Linked DNA regions of Homo sapiens: region 1 is linked to region 2. Evidence: promoter capture Hi-C in 16 types of primary human blood cells and fetal thymus (Javierre and others, 2016). All regions are on one chromosome and are shown on one strand. Each heading gives the region's core, a stretch centred on a gene start or on the middle of the fragment in contact. The rest is flanking DNA. Distances are from core to core; before and after follow the strand shown. Region 1 has its middle 220 kb from the start of ADAM18. Region 2 holds the start of ADAM18 (ADAM metallopeptidase domain 18).

What was found. Contacts are between HindIII fragments. The CHiCAGO score rates a contact against its expected background, and 5 or more counts as called.
Region 1: a contact is called between a fragment that was not itself captured here and the fragment with the promoter of ADAM18 in region 2, in 1 of 17 cell types (non-activated CD4 T cells). The highest score is 5.7, in non-activated CD4 T cells.

Annotation. Positions count from the first base shown.
Region 1 is chr8:39,358,318-39,361,017 of GRCh38, reverse strand. It overlaps the pseudogene ADAM5. Among named protein-coding and RNA genes, the nearest start is that of ADAM18, 220 kb to the left of the region's middle. The HindIII fragment of the contact is 193 bases long and covers 1,175-1,367 here.
Region 2 is chr8:39,582,984-39,585,957 of GRCh38, reverse strand. ADAM18 (ADAM metallopeptidase domain 18) reads right to left here and starts at 1,390. Exons shown (of 20, transcript NM_014237.3): 1 at 1,281-1,390; 2 at 606-682. The coding sequence starts at 1,335. RefSeq lists an enhancer at 725-1,224. The HindIII fragment of the contact is 1,955 bases long and covers 573-2,527 here.

The DNA of each region.
Region 1 (2,700 bases), core at 22-2,521, 220 kb after region 2:
GCCTAAAAAATATACATACTTTAATTAAAAAATATTTTATTGATAAAAAGTGATAACAATCATCTGAGCCTTCAGTTTACTGGTAATCTTTTTGCTGCTGGAGGATCTTGCCTCAATGTTGATGGCGCTGACTAATCAGGGTCATGGCTATTAACAATTGAAGTGGCTGTGGCAATATCTTAAAATAGGACAACAATGAAATTGGCCACATCAATTGACTCTTTCTTTCCTGAAAGATTTCTCTGTAGCATGCAATGCTGTTTGATAGCATTTAACTCACAGTAAAACTTCTGTCAACACTGAAGTCAATCCCTTCAAATGTTGTCACTGCTTTATCAACTTTGTTTATGTAATATTCCAAATCCTATATTGTCATTTTGAAAATGTTCACAGTACCTTCACCAGGAATATATTCCATCTCAAGAAATCACTTTCTTCGCTCATCCATAAGAAGCAACTCCTCATCAATTCAAGTTTTATTAGGAGATTGCAGCAATTCAGTCACATCTTCAGACTCTAATTCTAGTTCTCTTACTATTTGTATCACATCTGCATCTACCTCCTCCACTGAAATCCTGAACCCTTCAAAGTCATCCATGAAAGTTTGAATCAACTTCTCCCAAACTCTTGTTAATGTTGATATTTTGATCTCCATCTATGAATTGCAAATGTTCTTAATGGTATTTTAAATGGTGTATCCTTTCTGAAGATTTTTAGATAATTTTGCCCACACCCATCAGAAGACACTATCTATGGCAGCTAGAGTCTTTACATAATAAGGCTTGAAAGTCAAAATGACTCCTTGATCATTTGTCTGACCATGGGCTGCAGAATGGATATTGTGTTAAGCAGGTATGAAAACATTAATCTGCTTATACATCTCCATCAGAGCTCTTGGGTGACTAGTCGCATTGTCAATGAGCAGTAATGTTTTCAAAGGAATCTTTTTTTCCTGAGTATTGGGTCTCAACAATGAGCTGAACATATTCATTAAGCCATGCTGTAAACAGATATGCTGTCATCCAGGCTTTGTTGTTCCAACATAGAGCACAGGCAGAGCAGATTTAGCGCAATTCTTAAGGGTCATGGGATTTTTGGAATGATAAATGATCATTGGCTTTAACTTAAAGTCACCAGTTGTATTAGCCCATAACAAGAGAGTCAGCCTAAAGCTTTGAAGCCAGGCATTAAATTCTCTCTAGCTATGAAAGTCCTAGAAAGCATCGGTATTAGGCCATTCTTCCACTGCCATAAAGTAGTATCTGAGATTGAGTACTTTACAAGAAAAGACATTTAATCGATTCATGGTTCTGCAGGCTGTACAGGAAACATAGTGGCATCTTCTTCTGGGGAGGCCTCAGGAAGCTTCCATTCATGGCAGAAGGCAAAGGAGGTCAGGCACATCACATGGCAAGAACAGGAGCCAAAGCAAGAGGGAGTTGGTTGGGGGAGAAGGGAGACATGCCACACCCTTTTAACCAATCAGATCTCATGAGAACTTAATCACTATCGTGAAGATAGCACCAAGCCATGAGGGATCCACCCCCAAAATCCAAACACTTCCCACCAGACCCCACCTCCAGCAGTGGGGATTGCAATTTAACAGAGATTTGGATAGGGACAAATAGCCAAACTATATTAGCATCTTTTTTCAATAAAAGGCTGTTTCATCTACACTGAAAATCCATTGTTTAGTGTAGATACCAGCATCAATGATCTTAGCTAGATCTTTTGGATAACTTGCTGCAGCTTCTGTATCAGCACTTGCTGCTTCACCTTGCACTCATGCTATGGAAAAATCTTCTTTCCTTAAATCTTATAAACAAACATCTGCTAGCTTAAAATTTTCTCCTGCAGCTTACTCACTTCTCTCAGCCATCATAAAATTAAAGAGAGTTAGGTCCTTGCTCTGGATTAGGCTTTGGCTTGAGGGAATGTTGTGGCCGGTTGGATCTTCCATCCAAACCACTAAAACTTTTTCCATATCAGCAATAAGCCTGTTTTGCTTTCTTATCATTTGTGTGTTCACTGGGCTAGTGCTTTTACTTTCTTTCAAGAACTTTCCTTTGTATTCCTAACTTGGCTAACTGTTTAGCACAAAGTCCTGGCTTTCAACCTATTTCAGCTTTTGACATGCCTGTCGCAGGAATCTTGATCATTTCTAGCTTTTGACTTAAAATGAAAAACATGAAACTTTCTTTCTGGTGAACGCTTAGAGGCCATGTATGGTTATTAATTGGTCTAATGTCAATATTGTTGTGTTTCAAGGAACAGAAAAGCCTGTGGAGAGGGAAAGACAGGGGAATGGCTGGATAGGGATCAATTAGAACATATACATTTATTGATTATTTGGATTGAATCTAATTGGAGACTTTTGACTTTTCCTGTACGTGGAGTATATCTTTCTCTAGGTTTGGAGAGTTTTCTCTTCTATTATTTCTGTAAATAAGCTATTTTTTTTTTTTTTGAGATGGAGTCTCACTCTGTCCCACAGGCTGGAGTGCAGAGGTGCGATCTTGGTTCACTGCAAGCTCCGCCTCCCGGGTTCACACCATTCTCCTGCCTCAGCCTCCCGAGTAGCTGGGACTACAGGCGCCCACCACCACACCTGGCTAATTTTTTTGTATTTTTAATAGAGACGGGGTTTCATCGTGTTAGCCAGGATGGTCTCGATCTCCTGACCTTGTGATCAGCCCACCT
Region 2 (2,974 bases), core at 141-2,640:
TTCAGGTGTTTCAATCAAGAAAACATGCAAGACTGAATGCCTTCAGTTTAATCAGTTTTTAATCTAGCAGGCAGGTTAGTAATTTTCCAACTTCTTTTTCCAGTTAATATTTACTTATTGTAATATTTTTCATCATAATAGGGCAAATGTGATATTTTTATTTTTTCTTTGCTTTTTTAAAATTTCTTTGTACATTACGTGCTATTAAGACTGATGCTTGTGGGTCAAATTTTGCATGTCTAAATTTTACTTATGACAAATTTCTACATCATTTACTGGACAATAAAAAATTTGTTAATTTGTTGGCTGAACCATGGTCATGAATATTTTATATTGATTTCTTTTTCCCACCAGTTTGATTGCTGAGCATTTCTTGGAAATTGTGAACAAGTAGTATGTTAAGAAGAGATGAAGAGAAAAGACAGGGAAATAAGCAGCAGAAATGGGGGAACAAGAGGATCAAAACACGGTAGGAGACAAAATAGCACAGGCAAAATATTATGATTTGGCAATGAATACAAATTAGTATGATCTGACTTAATATAAGGGTAAATAAAAATTGCCATAAAGCTTTAAATATAGAATAAATATTCCTCATCATTTACCTTCCTCTCTGAAACTTCACTGTCATTTGACTTAATCTTCCGTGGAACTGTGACATGCAGAAATATTCCTTCAGAACCTGCAGTAAGAAAATGTGTTTGTTTTTGTCTTTGTTTTGCATCAACAATCGTCTCAGTCAAGCACGGGTTCTTATCCCGGACTGCATGGTGGCGCCTAAAATTTTAAGTAGAAGTTCTCTCATGTGCTCACACTCTTTCTAGTCCACAAATTTCACTACATAATCAACAGCACATTGAAAATGGCTAAGACACAAAAAAAGAAAAAAAAATTAGACATTGCAGTTCTACAGGCCCCTCTGGTTCCCTTTTAGAATCGATGAGAGACTTGCTTCCTCAGGACTCTGAGGAGTTCGCTGAAGGCAGTTAGTACTCCACCACCTCCACCCTCCTTCACAGAGTGGGAAGATGCCAGAAGACGCACTGCGTGTGGGCCACTGAGACCATGGGCGCTGATGCAGAGCGCTAACAGGTCCTCCGCTAAGGCCTTTAGTTCCCCCTGGCCTGGCGTGGAAAGGTGTCCCTGACACACCAGAAGCACCAGCATGGGATCCCAGAAGGGAGAGGGGGAGGGTCCCAGAATGACAAGAAACTGCTCCCAGTAAGAGCCCAGCCCAGCTATAAAGTCGAAGAAGAAAGGGGAGGCTCCCATGGACTTACCTTCGTGGGCTTGCAGTCTTCCAAGCTCAGTGAGGAGGGCGAGGAGAAGGAACATGGCTCAGCCAGAGCGCAGGAGCCACAGCCAAGGACAGAGACCGTTGAGCAGCGTTGAGCTCGCGGGCAGGCTCTCGGCCACCGGGCGCCTGGGCCAGGGAGGACCCTGTGCTGCCCCAGGACCCTGGGGGTGAGGTCTGAGGAGCTCTGAGAGCTGGGCCACTTCCGCAGGGCGGGGAGGGGAAATGCCAGATGCAAGCATAGGTGTTTGCACAAAATTTGTTGCAGAGACGTTTAAGTTGTTTAAAGCCCTCAGTAGTTACATTGGGGTAAATAAGCTAGATTTTCCTTTTTAGTGAGGTTTTCTTTAGTGAGGTTGGTAATTTTGTTTCTCCATATCACAGTTTTATGGCAGGTTTTATTTACTAAGGTGGAGGAGAAAGAGGAAAAGGGAAATAACAGCTATTATTATTAGCTATTATTACTAGCAATTTTCTACATGCTACTGCTGACTTAAATATCTTTGCAAATACGGAAAAATCAAGAAAATTGAACTTTTTAATGCTGGTACGATTTCACCGTTATTCATGATAACCAAGATATGGAATCAACCTAAGTGTCAATGAGGAATGAGTAAATAAAGAAAATGTGGTAAATATACACAGTGGAATAGTATACAGCCTTAACGAAGGAAATTCATTTGCAACAACAGGGATGGAACCAGAGAACGTTATGCTAAGGGAAATATGCCAGGCACAGAAAGACAAATACTGTATGATCTCATTTGAATGTGGAATCTAATAAAGTCTATCTTATAGAAGGATGATTACTAGAGGCCAGGGAAGGTGGGATGAGGGATGGGGAAAGGGAAAATGTTGATCTAAAGGTACAAAATATGAGTCAGACTGAAAGAATAAGTTTTAATGATCTCTTGCACTACATGGTGATCACAGTTAATAATAATGCATATTTCAAAATTGCTAAAATTTATTTTCAATGTTCTCACCACAAAGAAAAGATAAATTGATGAGGAGATGGGTATATTAACTAGCTTGACTGAAGCATTCTATAATGTATAGATAGATCAAAACATCACGCTGTACCCTATAAATACACAAAATTATTTGAAATAAATTTGCAGAAAAGAAAATGGAGTTGATCCCACTAAGACCATCAAAAAGCACATTTCTTCAACAGTGTATTTTTCTCATAAAACTATATTATAATCAGTGGAGGAAAGAGAAAGGAAAGCTTTAATATTTAGTGTTATTTTTGCAAATAAAGAGAATTCAAGAAAATGGAACTTTATCTTGAAAAGACAATCAGAAAGCACTTTACTTCAACTGTGTACCTTGCTTACTACACAAGATTATAATATAGTGTTCTAAGGGAAAAGAAAACCTTTACAATGCAATCTGACTGTTTTGTTAACAGTGACTCTAAGCTCTAAGTAAGAAACTGTGGAGACAGGAAGGGCAGCAAGGCAAGGGGAGAGAGAAAAATTGAGACCACTGTAGAAGACTATGCAACTGCCTCCCTTAACTTTTTGACAAATATCTTAAATGGCACATGTCCAAAACCCAACCCATCTATCACACTCAAGCCTTTTACTCCAGTACCCCCTATTTCAGGGATGAATTGTGTCAAAATATGTGTGCAAAAATTGTGTGCAAAATTGTGTGCAAAAATAAAACTGATCA